Linked DNA regions of Homo sapiens: all the other regions are linked to region 1. Evidence: promoter capture Hi-C in 16 types of primary human blood cells and fetal thymus (Javierre and others, 2016). All regions are on one chromosome and are shown on one strand. Each heading gives the region's core, a stretch centred on a gene start or on the middle of the fragment in contact. The rest is flanking DNA. Distances are from core to core; before and after follow the strand shown.

Region 1 (2,555 bases), core at 18-2,517:
CTTTGTTTTTGATTTTTGAGATAGGATCTCACTCTGTGGCCCAGGCTGGATTGCAGTGGCAGGATCATAGCTCATTGCAGCTTTGACCTCCCTGGCTCAGTTGATCCTCCTGCCCCAGCCTCCCAAGTAGCTGGGACCACAGGTGCATGCCACTACACCTGGCTAATTTTAAAAATTTTTTGTAGAGATAGGGGGGTTTCACTGTGTTGTCCAGGCTGGCCTCTTAACTCCTGGGCTCAAGGGATCCTCCCACCTAGGCCTTCCAAAGTGTTGAGATAACAGTTGTGAGCCACTATGCCTGGCCAATTTTATATAGGAGAGGGGGGTGTGTTCCCATGAGGATCCTTATCTTTCCTGAGCGGCATTAGTGGGAGGTAGCCAAGGGGTAGTGGGTAGGATTGAAGGGATTGCTAACTGCTAATATCTGGAATGTGGCAGAACTTGGAATTAACTTGGTAGGTCTGAGCATTGATACTGGAGTTACTCATGACAAAGGCATTGATACTGGAGTTACTCATGACAAAGGCAGAGTGTGAACTCTGATCCCGGAGGAAGAAGGGTTATTTTCAACAATCTCTTCAGCTTGAATAGATTGTTGCTGTGTGTGATTCAGGTTTGGTGCATGACACCTTTCCTCTTCATGGAGCTGACCTAAGGCGGAATATAAGGGAGATGGGAGGGGCAGCTTGGGAAATCAACACCTCCCACCCTCACGACGGATAACCCGAAGGATCTTCTGCAGCAGAGGCAGGAGTCTGGAGGCTGGGATGGTATCAGAAAGGGCCTCCCTGGGTATTGGAGGCAGTGAAGATGAAGGGCGAGAATCCATTGGCCGTGCCAGTACGCCATGGGGGCGGTTGGGAGATCTTGTAGAACAACTGTTCGAGCCCGCTTGTCCACTCATTACTCTGGAATCCGAGTCCCAGCAGGGGCGCGGGAAACCGCTGCTCTGAGAAAAGGTACCTCCCCCAGAAAGACTGCGCGGGAAGTCCCGAGTTTTCCCGCCACGCCGAGGGCGTGATCCCTGACGTCAGAGCTCCGCCTCCACAAGCTGGCGGCCGGTGGGCTCCGCCCTTAACCAAGATGGCGATACGCGTGGGACCGGAAAGAGTTTATAGATTTCCCGTCTACCCTACCTCTGAGGTGAAGGTGGGACTGCCCTGTGGAGCCCACCCTTTCCGTTATGCGCCCGCGCGGCGCAATGACGTAACACAGGCCCGCCCACTGCCCCTGTTGGGTTCCTGAGTCGTGCTGCGTCGACAACGGTAGTGACGCGTATTGCCTGGAGGATGGCGGACGCCGGCATTCGCCGCGTGGTTCCCAGCGACCTGTATCCCCTCGTGCTCGGCTTCCTGCGCGATAACCAACTCTCAGAGGTGGCCAATAAGTTCGCCAAAGCGACAGGAGCTGTGAGTTCCGGGCTTGGGGCGGGGACCGGGCTGAGATGACCACAAGGCTTCAGGCCCTGACGTGCTTAGGTTTCCAGGTGGGGAAGTCTGGGGGTCCGCCAGTCCAGTGTCTGCAAGGCCTTTACGCCGACCCCTCGGCAGTGACCAGAGAAAGCCTGCGGCCTCGGTCGCTTACCTTCCTCCATGTCTGAGTAGATATCGCTGAGTCTTGTTGCTTTTTTCTTGTGACCTGTGCAGCGGCGGCAGCGTGGGAGCCTCGTGGCCCCAAGCCACATGGCTGGCAGAGTGCAGCGGGGAGGTAGAGTCTTGTTCCACTGAGGACGTTGGTTCTTCGGCATCTTCTGGGGGGCTTTTCGTTGGGTGAGGCAAACCGTGATTTGACCTTAGCCTCAGTCACATTTACTGGGATTCAAAAGCAAGTGAAATTTCTTTAGAATGAAGTCTGGGATTTTCGTTTGTAAAGAAGAAAATGAATGAAAGTAGAAGCAGAGTTTTGTTTTGAGTTACACTGAGAATTGAGAGTCATCAACAGCCCTACCAAGTAGGCATAGTAGTGGGCTTGGAGCTTTGGCTAATTGAATCAAACAAACCTAGGTTTGGGACCAGGCTCTGCCACTTTTTAGATACGTGACCCGGGCAGTTTATTTAACCTTTCTGAGTCTTTCTACAGGGATGTCATCATCCACTTTATAGGATTTTTGTGAGTTTCAGTAAGATGATGTGTAAGAGTAGCAATCTCAGTGCTGGTACAGAGGAATCTTGTAAAAGTGAAAGCTGTACCATAGTTATGGCAATTTAGGATGCTCCAAACACATGTAAGAGTAAGAGAACCAGGAATGTGAAAGGTTTGTAATCTACATCAACGGACATTCCTGCATGGGAAGACACTTTGAGAGAGGAGAGAGGGGGGGTCTTCAGCAGGGATGATAGCATGACTAGGAAGGATGGCTTGCACTTTTAGCAGAATCAGGCTGCGAAAGCAAAGAATCAGATCAGCCTCAAAACTTCCTTAAGCTGGGACAGGCTGCCATGTGATCTAACTGCTTTCTTAATGAAACTGTTTAGAGTTGACTGTTAAGGAGACTGCGGAGAGTGCTTTCACAGTGGACTGGATGGAATTGGACATTTCAGAATTAGGATTCTTTT
Region 2 (2,555 bases), core at 1-2,500, 450 kb after region 1:
ATTGCTGGGAGCCCACTGGGCCACTGGGCAACTTAGTGGTGTCGTTGCAGACACAGAGCAGATCCGGGAGACCCTGAGGAGAGGACTCGAGATCAACAGCAAACCTGTCCTTCCACCAATCAACCCTCAGCGGCAGAATGGCCTCGCCCACGACCGGGCCCCGTAAGTTCCCCAGTGTCCCTGGGCTGGAACAAGAGGACGACTTTTTTCTGAAGGGCCTGTCCCTGTGGATTGCATGAGAGAGAACAATGCACATAGCCCTTGCTGGATGGGCCCAGGATCTCTAGGCTTAAGGGCAGGCATGGTCTGGGGCACACAGATCTATCTGTGGGTCATAGGAGAGGGCCTCAGAGGGGACCCAGCAGACCGTGAATATTAACATCAGTAAATATTTACATGAGCCGTGTGAACAGACAGGAGGCCAGGTTGGGGAGAAATCTGACTTGGGGCCTCCCAGCCTTGTGGGAGCCCATTGTGCTGAGCACGGTTCCCTCCTTATCTCAGTCTTGGCCAGAGTTGCCCTTCCTTCCTTCCTGGAGCCTGGTCTCCGGCTGATAGCTGCAACCCTGGGGGCCTCCCTCTCTGGCCAGCCCCATACTGGATGCCTGTGGCTGAGGCCCTTCTTCCTGCCTCTCTTCCCTGGGGCCCAGGGAAGGGAAAGGAAGTCTTTTGCAGGCCTCTGCTGCCTGTCCAGGGGCCCCTGTAGCCCTCCGGAGAGACTGTGGCCACCCTAGAGGTCAGATCCGCTTCCTGCCAACCTCTCTTCCTCTGATAGAGGGGATGAGTGATAGGCAGGGCTGAAGCTGGGCACCCCCCTCTGCCCTTAGTCCCAGGGCAGCTCTAGGGAATAGCTGCTGGCAGGAGATACCTGGGGGCTGGCAGCCCAAAGCAGGAACCTTGCCTGCCAGGGAGGAAATTGCTGTGCCTTGGGCTGAAAGGGAGGTTGATCATCCTGCAAGACCAGGGTGATCTAGCCTTCTTCTATGAAGTCTTTATTACACATTTGCTGTCTGACAAGCTCGGACCTAGGGGGCCATCTGGGGTGCACAGGCTCTTCCTTTGGGAGAACATGAGTGAAACAGTTACCTTTTAATGGTGTGCATCTGGCTGTCGATGTGATTTGTTGGAAATGGCTGCTTCTCTGGATTCTAGCTCTAGTTGCTGATCGTGTTTCCCAGAAGTAGTAATGCTTCAGTGCACTACAGAAAAGACAGGTCCACAGGATCTGGGGTAGTTAGGGAGGGCATCTTGGAGGAGGAAGAACATAGCATCGACCTTGAGGGCACCTTAGAATTTTAATAAGCAGGGGAAGGAACTCAAGAGGATAGCACAGGGGAGGCCTGGCTGGTTAAAGTTGAGGCTGCCTGCTGGGACCTGACTGGAACTAGAGTTACTCTGGGAACAGGGCTGTACTGAGAGTTGAGCTCTTTGGCAAAAGCCTGGAGAAGCCTCCACCGCCACCTCAGAGCAGCTTTTAACTCCGGCCTGTAGGTTTCTCCAGCCAGCTGCCCTGAAGTAGCTGGCTGGAGGCATCCTGATCATCCCCTGGCAGCAGCAGATGGCCACACCAGGTCATACGACATATGGAAGCTCTCTACCTGTGAGTCTGGACCCTGTCCCGGGTCTACACTCCTTCCCATTCCCTGAGCTTGGCTTCTCGCTTTGGGCCTCCTTGGCACTGTTGGCAGGCCAGAGGTACTGGAAGGCCTATAACATGGACACAGTCTCAGTCCAGATGGCTCTCTGCCTCTGGAAGCCTGGGGTTTCTAGGCAGAAGGGCACAAGCTCCTGCAGAGATACAACCTTCTTGCCCCGCTTGTGTATCTGGAACAGGCCTGAGATCTCACTCCCTGGCTTGGGGGCACTTCCAGCTACTGCACCCCTGGACATTGCAATGGGGCACAAGGCTCTGTGCTCCTAGATATACACATAAGCCGAGACTCTCAGCCTACACCCTAACTGGGCAGTCGGGTATTGGTTCTGGCCCAAGGGTTCTCTGTAAACATAAGGCAGAGAGGCTGCAGCTTCTACCCTTTGGCTTGAGTTGGCTGAGATACAGAGAGATGGGTGAGAATAGATTCGAGGTGCCGGGGTTGTCTCCCCTTCCTGAAGGTTTAGTGCCCAGTAAGGTCTCTAAAGCACCAGGACCTGTAGTCTGAGGGGAATAGAATGTTTCCTCTGAGGCTGTCAGTATTGGTTACCAATTTGTTAGCAATTGGTTGAGAAATGGTTTCTCCTCCTCCTTTGCCAAGAACATTCTCCAACACACCCCTCAAGCCTGTCAGACTCAAGTTTCCTGTTATCTCAGGATCGATGATGATGGACTCAGTTCAGATCAGTGAGCGTGACGGTAATATCTGTGCTGCCCACTCTGGGACCTGACCCCATTTCACATACACCACATGGATTGCAACTGAGAAAGCTGACCCAAAATGTGCTGGCACCAGTGTTTGCTCCTCTCCCTGTTGGGGGGCAGCCAGCGTGGGCCATATTTTGTCTGCGGGTCTGATTTCCCCTTAGTCAGGACTTCTGGGCCAGGGAGCTCTTATGCATGG
Region 3 (2,555 bases), core at 38-2,537, 370 kb after region 1:
TTCTCACCACTGGAGACGGAGAATTCTCCTGGCCCAGCACCAAGCCCGAGCTTTTAGCTCATTCAAGAGCACTTCTTCAGTTTGGACCCTTATTCCCATAGGAGAGGAGACATTCCAAGGGCATTTTCATAGGAGTCAGAACCCTTCTGTGGGAGGAGGTATGTGATTTTGGAAAAATTGTCTGAACCTTGCTTTATTTTATTTTATTTTATTTTATTTTTTATTTTTGAGACGGAGTCTCTCTCTGTCGCCCAGGCTGGAGTGCGGTAGTGTAATCTCGGCTCACTGCAACCTCCACCTCCTGGGTTCAAGTGATCCTCCTGCCTCAGCCTCCCAAGTAGCTGGGATTACAGGGCACGCTACCACGCCTGGCTAATTTTTGTATTTTTAGTAGAGATGGGGTTTTGCCATGTTGGCCAGGCTGGCCTCAAACTCCCGGCCTTAAGTGATCTGCCCACATCAGCCTCCCAAAGTGCTGAGATTATAAGCATGAGCCACCGTATCTGGCCTGAACCTTGCTTTATGAGGTGAGGGAGTACCTCCATCCCAGCAACTGGCACAGTGCTTAGTATGTGTCAAGCACTTAATTTATTTTCTTTTTTTGTTTGGTTTGAGATGGACCCTTGCTCTGTCGCCCAGGCTGGAGTGTAGTGGTGCGATCTTGCGATCTCAGTTCACTGCAACCTCTGCCTCCTAGGTTCCAGCGATTCTCCTGCCTCAGTCTCCTGAGTAGCTGGGATTACAGGCACGCAGTACCATGCCCAACTAGTTTCTTGTATTTTTAGTAAAGATGGGGTTTTGCCATGTTGGCCAGGCTGGTCTTGAACTCCTGACCTCAGGTGATCCACCTGCCTCGGTGTCCCAAAGTGCTAGGATTACATGCATGAGCCACTGCACCTGGCCTATTTTCATAAATTTTTAGAGCACATTACCTAAATATCCAGTGCTTTCTTAGTGCTGAGGATACCATGGAAAGCAAAGCAGGCAAGGTTTCTGCTCTCATGAATCTTATATTCTTATTGGAGAAACATGAAAAATTTTATATAGTTTTAGATAGTACAAGTGCTGTGTTGAAAATAAAGCAGGGCCCCAGCTACTCAGGAGGCTGAGGTGGGAGGATCACTTGAGCTCAGGAGTTCTGGGCTATTATGCACTATGCCAGTCAGGTGTCCACACTAAGTTCAGCATCAATATGGTGACCTCCCAGGAGCATGGGACCACCAGGTTGCCTAAGGAGGGGTGACCTGGCCCAGTAGGTCAAAACTCCTGTGCTGATCAGTAGTGGGATTGTGCCTGTGAATAGCCACTGCACGCCAGCCTGGGCAACATGGGGAGACCCTGTCTCTTAAAAAAATGAAAGTAAAGCAGGGCGCCAAGTGTGGTGACTCATGCCTCTAATCCCAGCACTTTGGGAGGCCACGGGGGGGTGGATCACTTGAGCCAGGAGTTCGAGAGCAGCCTGGGCAATGTGGTGAAACCCCATCTCTACAAAAAATACAAAAATTAGTCAGGCATGGTGGTGCGTGCCTGTAGTCCCAGCTACTTGGGAGGCTGAGGTGGGAGGATCGCTTGAGCCCAGGAGGCAGAGGCTGCAGTGAGCCAAGATCGTGCCACTGCACTCCAGCCTAGGTGACAGAGTGAGACCCTGTCTTAAAAAAATAAATAAAATTAAAAAAGCAGGGATGGTACTCTGGAGCTTACATGGGTAGAAGTAGTGGTTGAGGTGGGTGGGGAGGATGCTGTTAGCAGTAATCAGTGATGGCTTCCTTGAAGATTTGAACTGAGACCTCAAAGACCGGTGGCAGCCAGGGCTGTCACATTGTACAACTCTAGGGCCACCGTTCACATTATTCTGTGCAATTGCTGCCCCCTGGAGTTGTACAATGCTGGGAGTCCTGATGAAGGTCCTAGGCAGTGAAACAGCTAGTATAAAGGCCCTGAGGGCAGCACGGACCTCGAAGTGTTTAAGGAAAAGAAAGAAGGCCAGTGCATCTGAGGCTTGGTAAGAGAGAACAGTGGAACAAGATGAGGTTGCAGAGTTTGAAGACAATGTAAAGAATGTGACATTCAATAAATTATAATTATTATTATTGTTTTTTTTTTTTTTTTTTTTTGAGATGGAGTCTCGCTCTGTCGCCCAGGCTGGAGTGCAGTGGCAGTGGTGCGATCTCAGCTCACTGCAAGCTCCGCCTTCTGGTGTCATGCCATTCTCCTGCCTCAGCCTCCCAAGTAGCTGGGACCACAGGCACCCACCACCACGCCTGGCTAACTTTTTGTATTTTTAGTAGAGACAGGGTTTCACCGTGTTAGCCAGGATGGTCTCGATCTCCTGACCTTGTGATCCGCCCACCTTGGCCTCCCAGAGTGCTGGGATTACAGGCGTGAGCCACCGCGCCCGGCCGACATTCAATAAATTATTTGTTGACTGATGAGGAAAGAAAAAGGATGATATGATGGAGGCTGGAGTGGGGTTTTAGGAAGCATTCCAGTGTGGGACCTCAGCTTTAGTATGAAGACAGGAGAACTGAGTTGAGTGACGGTTTTATTTCCCCAAA
Region 4 (2,555 bases), core at 36-2,535, 350 kb after region 1:
ATGAGTCTTGAAAGACTGTTCTGCAGCTGCTTGGGGGTGTAGCCAAAGGGTAGACCTGAAGGGGCAAGTGGACATCTTTGCTGGTTACCTCTCCTTTTAGGACTGAGTCTTCCTCCTGGTGAAAACCTGTTGCTTCCCCTGGACATCGGTGTCAGTAGGCTGTGCAGGGCTGAGGCCAGCTGCCCGCATCAATGGGAGGATGCCAAGAGGCCAACAGCGTGGAGAGCCTGGGGACCAGCCACCTGCTGTCTAGGGAGGATTGTAGGGAACAGCCTCCTCTGTCAGAGTAGACGGGAGGAGGTGGAACTGGTGTCGCAGTCCTCTCTCACTGGCGAACTGTTCTCTGGTTGAGAGGAGTTGTTGAAGAGCGCTTCTGAGTGGAAAGCAGCTCTTGCTAGCTTAATGACCCATTCTCATTGTGCCTTTATATTTAACTATGTGTTGTGATGAACTTGTTGTCATGTGTCAGGAGAAAAGTGGGCCTGGGCTGGGCACAGTGGCTCATGCATGTATTCCCACCACTTTGGGAGGCCTTGAGGATCCCTTGAGGCCAGGAGTTCGAGACCAGTGTGGGGAGCGTAGCCAGACCCTAACTCTGTTATTTGAAAAAAAAAAAAAAAAAAAAAAAAAAAGAAGTGGGCCTGGCTCTGCCACGCTGTTTGTTCAGGCCTCATTTGAGTGTGAGGAGAAATCCCTACACAGATTCAGGCAACTATTTTTATGTCACCCAAGTAGCCATAAAGGATAGAATTGTATGTAAAAGGTATGAAAGCATGTGCAAAGGACTAAGGGCAATTTTTTTTTCCTTCCTGCTGCAAGCTTGTTAACAGCCATATCTTCAGAGATGGGCCAACATGTGATAATGAAGAAAAGGGATTATACAGCACTTTGTGAAAGCCCTTCCTAGATGCAGAAAAGTATAAAGAGAAACAGCACAGTGACTGGTACTTTCTTTTTTTTTTGAGACAGAGTTTTGCTCTGTCACCCAGGCTGGAGTGCAGTGGCACGATCTTGGCTTACTGCAACCTCTGTCTCCCGGTTTCAAGCGATTCTCGTGCCTCAGCCTCCCAAGTAGCTGATATTACAGGCACACGCCACCTTGCCCAGCTAATTTTTGTATTTTTAGTAGAGGCAGAGTTTCACCATGTTGGCCAGGCTGGTCTCGAACTCCTGACCTCAAGTGATCAACCCACCTCGGCCTCCCAAAGTGCTAGGATTACAGGCGTGAGCCAGTGCGACCAGCCATCAGTGACTGGTACTTTCTAAGATGTGGAGGGGTTTGCAAAAATAAGATCCTGAAATTCATTTATATTCCTCACATTTGGGATCCCACGAGGTTTCTAGCAGGATGACTGACCCAGGCTGTCTGGGTCTGTCTGTGGCCCAGGGTAGCTTGGGATTCATTTTGCAATAGCAGTGTGGCTCTGTGACTGGTGATCCCTGAGTAGTGGGGACATTCTAACTGAAAGCTGAGACTTTGGTGAGCAAGGATCAAAGCAGAGAGGCAGAACCTGTACTCATGGCCCACTTCAGTCCTGCAACTGCCCTGCAGAGAGAAGTTGGGTGTTCAAGGAATTAAGTTGAGGGATGCCCTGGGACCTTGGATAACATCATTTGCTAAGTGTAAAATGCGATTTTTTTCCACATACTCATCTGGCCTCTGAGTAGTAAGTAAACAGAATACTCTGTGCTTGGGGACAGGGTTAATTTTATCTGACTCTTGGTAGTTCCTTGCAGTTGGAGTTTGAAGGTTAAGCTTCTCTCCTTGATGTGACACCTTGTGGGAGACTTGGTGAGAAAGAGGGCTGCAGGGATGCTGCAGATGGAGCAGAGAATGGTAAACACAGTTTTGCAGCTTGGTGCAGGATGGACCTAGGCTGTAGCGGGGCAGGTTTGGAAATTTGCAGCAGGAAACTGGAGCAGGTATGGGGCCTGTAGTGGCTCTCATCTGCTCTGGAGTTCTGTAGCTCTAATGGGGTCTTTCCAGGGATCTCTACTCTTTTCTTTCTTCCCTTGCCCCACAAACTTTTCTAAATCCAACCTGTTGTAGAATTAGTCAAGTGATTTGTTGAAATCAGTTAAGGCAGACATGGAGAGTTGTCCCTCTTCCTCTGTTGAGATGCTAAGCTATTTGTAGCAACTTTCTTAAAAGTTCTATAAATAACTTAGCATTTCCTAACAGAGAATAGGGATTTCTATCCACAAAGGCAAATAATATCCTGGTGAAAGAGGACGAAACAAGACCAACTGGTTTTAAATAGTGTTTAAATTGCCTGGTGCTGGCACCATTGACTGGGATCACTTGTAACATGTCTTTTATTTGGTTGTTAGCTTTCCACCAGCATGCTATCCCAGTTGCAAAGTGTACTCCATCGATGTCCCAGGGGCAGGTGAAGCTTTTGCAGTCTGTGGAATGGTCAGATGTTTGAGGCAGCTCAAATGCCGTGTTTGTGGGCTAAATGCAGACTTCCTTCCACTGATGGTTTCTATTTGGTCTATTTCTCTAGCTACCAAAATTTCTTATCCATTTTTTTTTTTTTTTTTTTTTTTAGACA
Region 5 (2,555 bases), core at 34-2,533, 280 kb after region 1:
CACCATGCCTGGCAAATTTATTTTGTATTTTTTAGTAGAGACGGGGTTTCACCATGTTGGCCAGACTGGTCTCGAACTCCTGACCTCAGGCAATCCACCCGCCTCGGTCTCCCAAAGTGCTGGGATTACAGGCATGAACCACCGCGCCCGGCCGTATTATCCACATTTTACCTGAAAGGAAATGAAGGCACTATGAGGTTAAGTAACTTGCCCAAGGTCACAAGGCAAGTTAATGGCAGATTTACACCCAGGCTGTCTGGATCCAGAACCCTCACTGTTAACCACCACACTACATCACCTCTCACGATGCAAATTGTGTGGCCCCATCCTATATTCTGAATCTCCTCTCCTGCCTGGCTGGCTATATTGTCTATTTCAGAATCTTTGCTCACACCACTCTCCCAGCCCAGAGCATCTGTCCCTCTGCCTCTCCAAATCTCATTCTGCAGGACTCCCTTTCTGCAGCCAACCCTAACTGCCCCACCTTCACTGCTCCCAGCTAGCCTGGGAGCTTCCCAAGGGCAGCACAGGCCTGGACCCTCCAGATGCTAGATAGAGACACTGTGGACAAATTTAAGTGAGAGTGGGGTAAGAAGTACTATGCTGCTCCCTTGGGGTGGGGAGGTGCTTAAAGTGGAGGGAGAGCAGGCCATGTGGGAGGAGGAATCCTGGGAGCTAGTGTGAAAGGAGTCCTAGCGAACTTCTCAGGGAGGCAGCAAGGGGTCTAGCATGGAAGGTCTTCACTGCTTCTCCCAGCCCCTGTGAAGCCCGGTTCCTGAGGCCCTGGACCCATAACGCAGGCCCCAGAGGATATCATTGTCCTCTGATACCCAAGTCAGACCTTAGAGGCACCAAGGGCATTGAGGGGAACAAGGGATCCCTGCATCCAAAGTCAGGCGGGAGCACAAACAGGGAGGGCGAGCACAGGAAGTGGGACCGCGATGATGGACGACCCCTGAAGCAGCAGCTCCCTAAACCCGCTAGCGGGACACCCGTAAGCGTCCAGAATAGTGGGCCCGAAGGCACAGGGATGCGGCTGTGGCCTTGGAGGACACATGACGAGGCAGGCCTGAGCAAACTGGATGTGCCTTGATACAGGCCACGGCGAGAATCAGAGATGGGGGTCCGACGGGCCCCGGGGGGGGTACCGTGGGGGAACACATCGGACGGGTACCCTGGGTCAGCGCTCTCCGCGACTCTCCTAGCCCTGGGCCGGGGGCAGGAGGGGAAATCACCTGCTCCGTCGGGCGCCGCCGGCGACTTGTCCCGCGCGGTGCAGCTCTCATCCCCCAGCCCCACCAACGAGATCAAAGGCGGGGCCCAGAGCGGTTCCCTTCCAGAGGCGCCGTGGCGGCCATGTTTGAGAAGGGCAAGTTGCCCACAACAGGGCGGAGCTCCTGCTCTAATTCTCTAACGTCCCAGGGCTATGGACGGGCTCCCTTGGCGGCCAGTTTTGTTGCGCGTAGGGAGGCGTTAGGCGTGAAGGTCTTGAGAGGGGGTGGAGTCGAAGTGGGTAGGACTGCATCCCCGTCTTGTTCCTTCTCATCCGTCAGAGACCCGAAACCTTTCTCTTTCTTTCTCTCTCTCTTTTTCTCGTCTCTCTCTCTCTCTCTCTCTCACTTTTTTTTCCTTTTCTTCTTCTTTTTTTTTTTTGGGAGGGAGCCTCGCACTGTCTCCCGGGCTGGAGTGCAGTGGCGCGATCTCGGCTCACTGCAACCTCCGCCTCCCGGGTTCAAGAGATTCTCCTGCCTCAGCCTCCCGAGTAGCTGGGATTACAGGCGCGCGCCACCACGCCCAGATAATTTATTGTATTTTTAGTAGAAACGGGGTTTCACCATGTTGGCCAGGCTGGTCTCAAACTCCTGACCTCGTGATTCGCCTGCCTCGGCCTCCCAAAGTGCTGGGATTACAGGCATGAGCCACCGCGCCTGGCCTCTTTTCTTTTCTTCTTTCTTTATTTTCCTTTCTTTCCCTCCCTCCCTTCCTTCCTTCTCTTTCTTTTTCTTCTTTTCTTGCTGTTACAGCCCCAGGCTGGAGTGCAGGTTCACGAGTGCGAACATGGCTCACTGCAGCCCCGACCTCCTGGGTTCAAGTGATCCTCCCATCTCAGCCTCTGGAGTAGCTGGAACCACAGGCGCGTGCCACCACGCCGAGCTAATTTTTTTTTTTTTTTTTTTTTTTGTAGAGACAGGGTTTTTGCCACGTGGCCCAGGCTGGTCTCTTAGGTACTGACTTCCCCACCCTGTCTGTACCTTTTGCATTCCCTTAACAGCAATGTCTCCCCTAGATTGGGGTGAGCTACAGGTCTGTGTCTCCGGAGGGTGGAGCCTGGGATTTTGGACGTGGTCTGGGAGAGGTGGAGTGGTAGCAGGTGCCAGGATGAGGATCCACCTGAGCCCTGTCATGGACAGCCTGTAGACCATGCCTACCCCCCGGGGCCTTCATCCCCCATGTTGGCAGGGCTGCTTGTCTAGGACAGGAGAGCTGAACTCCAGGGCCCAACAAGACTTCAACTTCCTCTTTTTGTTCCTGCTGCCACAGATTCCCGGTGCTGC

What was found. The method cuts DNA at HindIII sites, captures the fragments that hold promoters and counts their contacts. A CHiCAGO score of 5 or more calls a contact.
Region 2: a contact is called between a fragment that was not itself captured here and the fragment with the promoter of NOLC1 in region 1, in 4 of 17 cell types (activated CD4 T cells, total CD8 T cells, erythroblasts and 1 more). The highest score is 6.2, in activated CD4 T cells.
Region 3: a fragment that was not itself captured here is called in contact with the fragment with the promoter of NOLC1 in region 1 in 1 of 17 cell types (naive CD8 T cells); the score reaches 5.2 in naive CD8 T cells.
Region 4: a fragment that was not itself captured here is called in contact with the fragment with the promoter of NOLC1 in region 1 in 1 of 17 cell types (activated CD4 T cells); the score reaches 6.4 in activated CD4 T cells.
Region 5: a contact is called between the fragment with the promoter of CUEDC2 here and the fragment with the promoter of NOLC1 in region 1, in 1 of 17 cell types (endothelial precursors). The highest score is 5.1, in endothelial precursors.

What each region holds. Positions count from the first base shown.
Region 1 is chr10:102,151,122-102,153,676 of GRCh38, forward strand. NOLC1 (nucleolar and coiled-body phosphoprotein 1) reads left to right here and starts at 1,268. Exons shown (of 13, transcript NM_004741.5): 1 at 1,268-1,409. The coding sequence starts at 1,290. RefSeq lists enhancers at 754-1,953, 859-1,158, 1,329-1,378. The HindIII fragment of the contact is 8,659 bases long and covers 1-2,555 here.
Region 2 is chr10:102,599,383-102,601,937 of GRCh38, forward strand. It overlaps SUFU (SUFU negative regulator of hedgehog signaling), which reads left to right. Exons shown (of 12, transcript NM_016169.4): 8 at 51-162. Among named protein-coding and RNA genes, the nearest start is that of TRIM8-DT, 43 kb to the right of the region's middle. RefSeq lists an enhancer at 370-1,120. The HindIII fragment of the contact is 3,650 bases long and covers 1-2,555 here.
Region 3 is chr10:102,524,901-102,527,455 of GRCh38, forward strand. All of the region lies in intron 2 of SUFU (SUFU negative regulator of hedgehog signaling), which reads left to right. Among named protein-coding and RNA genes, the nearest start is that of SUFU, 22 kb to the left of the region's middle. The HindIII fragment of the contact is 5,320 bases long and covers 1-2,555 here.
Region 4 is chr10:102,505,435-102,507,989 of GRCh38, forward strand. All of the region lies in intron 1 of SUFU (SUFU negative regulator of hedgehog signaling), which reads left to right. Among named protein-coding and RNA genes, the nearest start is that of SUFU, 2.7 kb to the left of the region's middle. RefSeq lists an enhancer at 1-225. The HindIII fragment of the contact is 937 bases long and covers 818-1,754 here.
Region 5 is chr10:102,431,291-102,433,845 of GRCh38, forward strand. It overlaps CUEDC2 (CUE domain containing 2), which reads right to left and starts at 1,284. Exons shown (of 9, transcript NM_024040.3): 1 at 1,236-1,284. RefSeq lists enhancers at 1,249-1,378, 1,549-1,718, 1,650-2,285, 2,286-2,555. The HindIII fragment of the contact is 11,516 bases long and covers 1-2,555 here.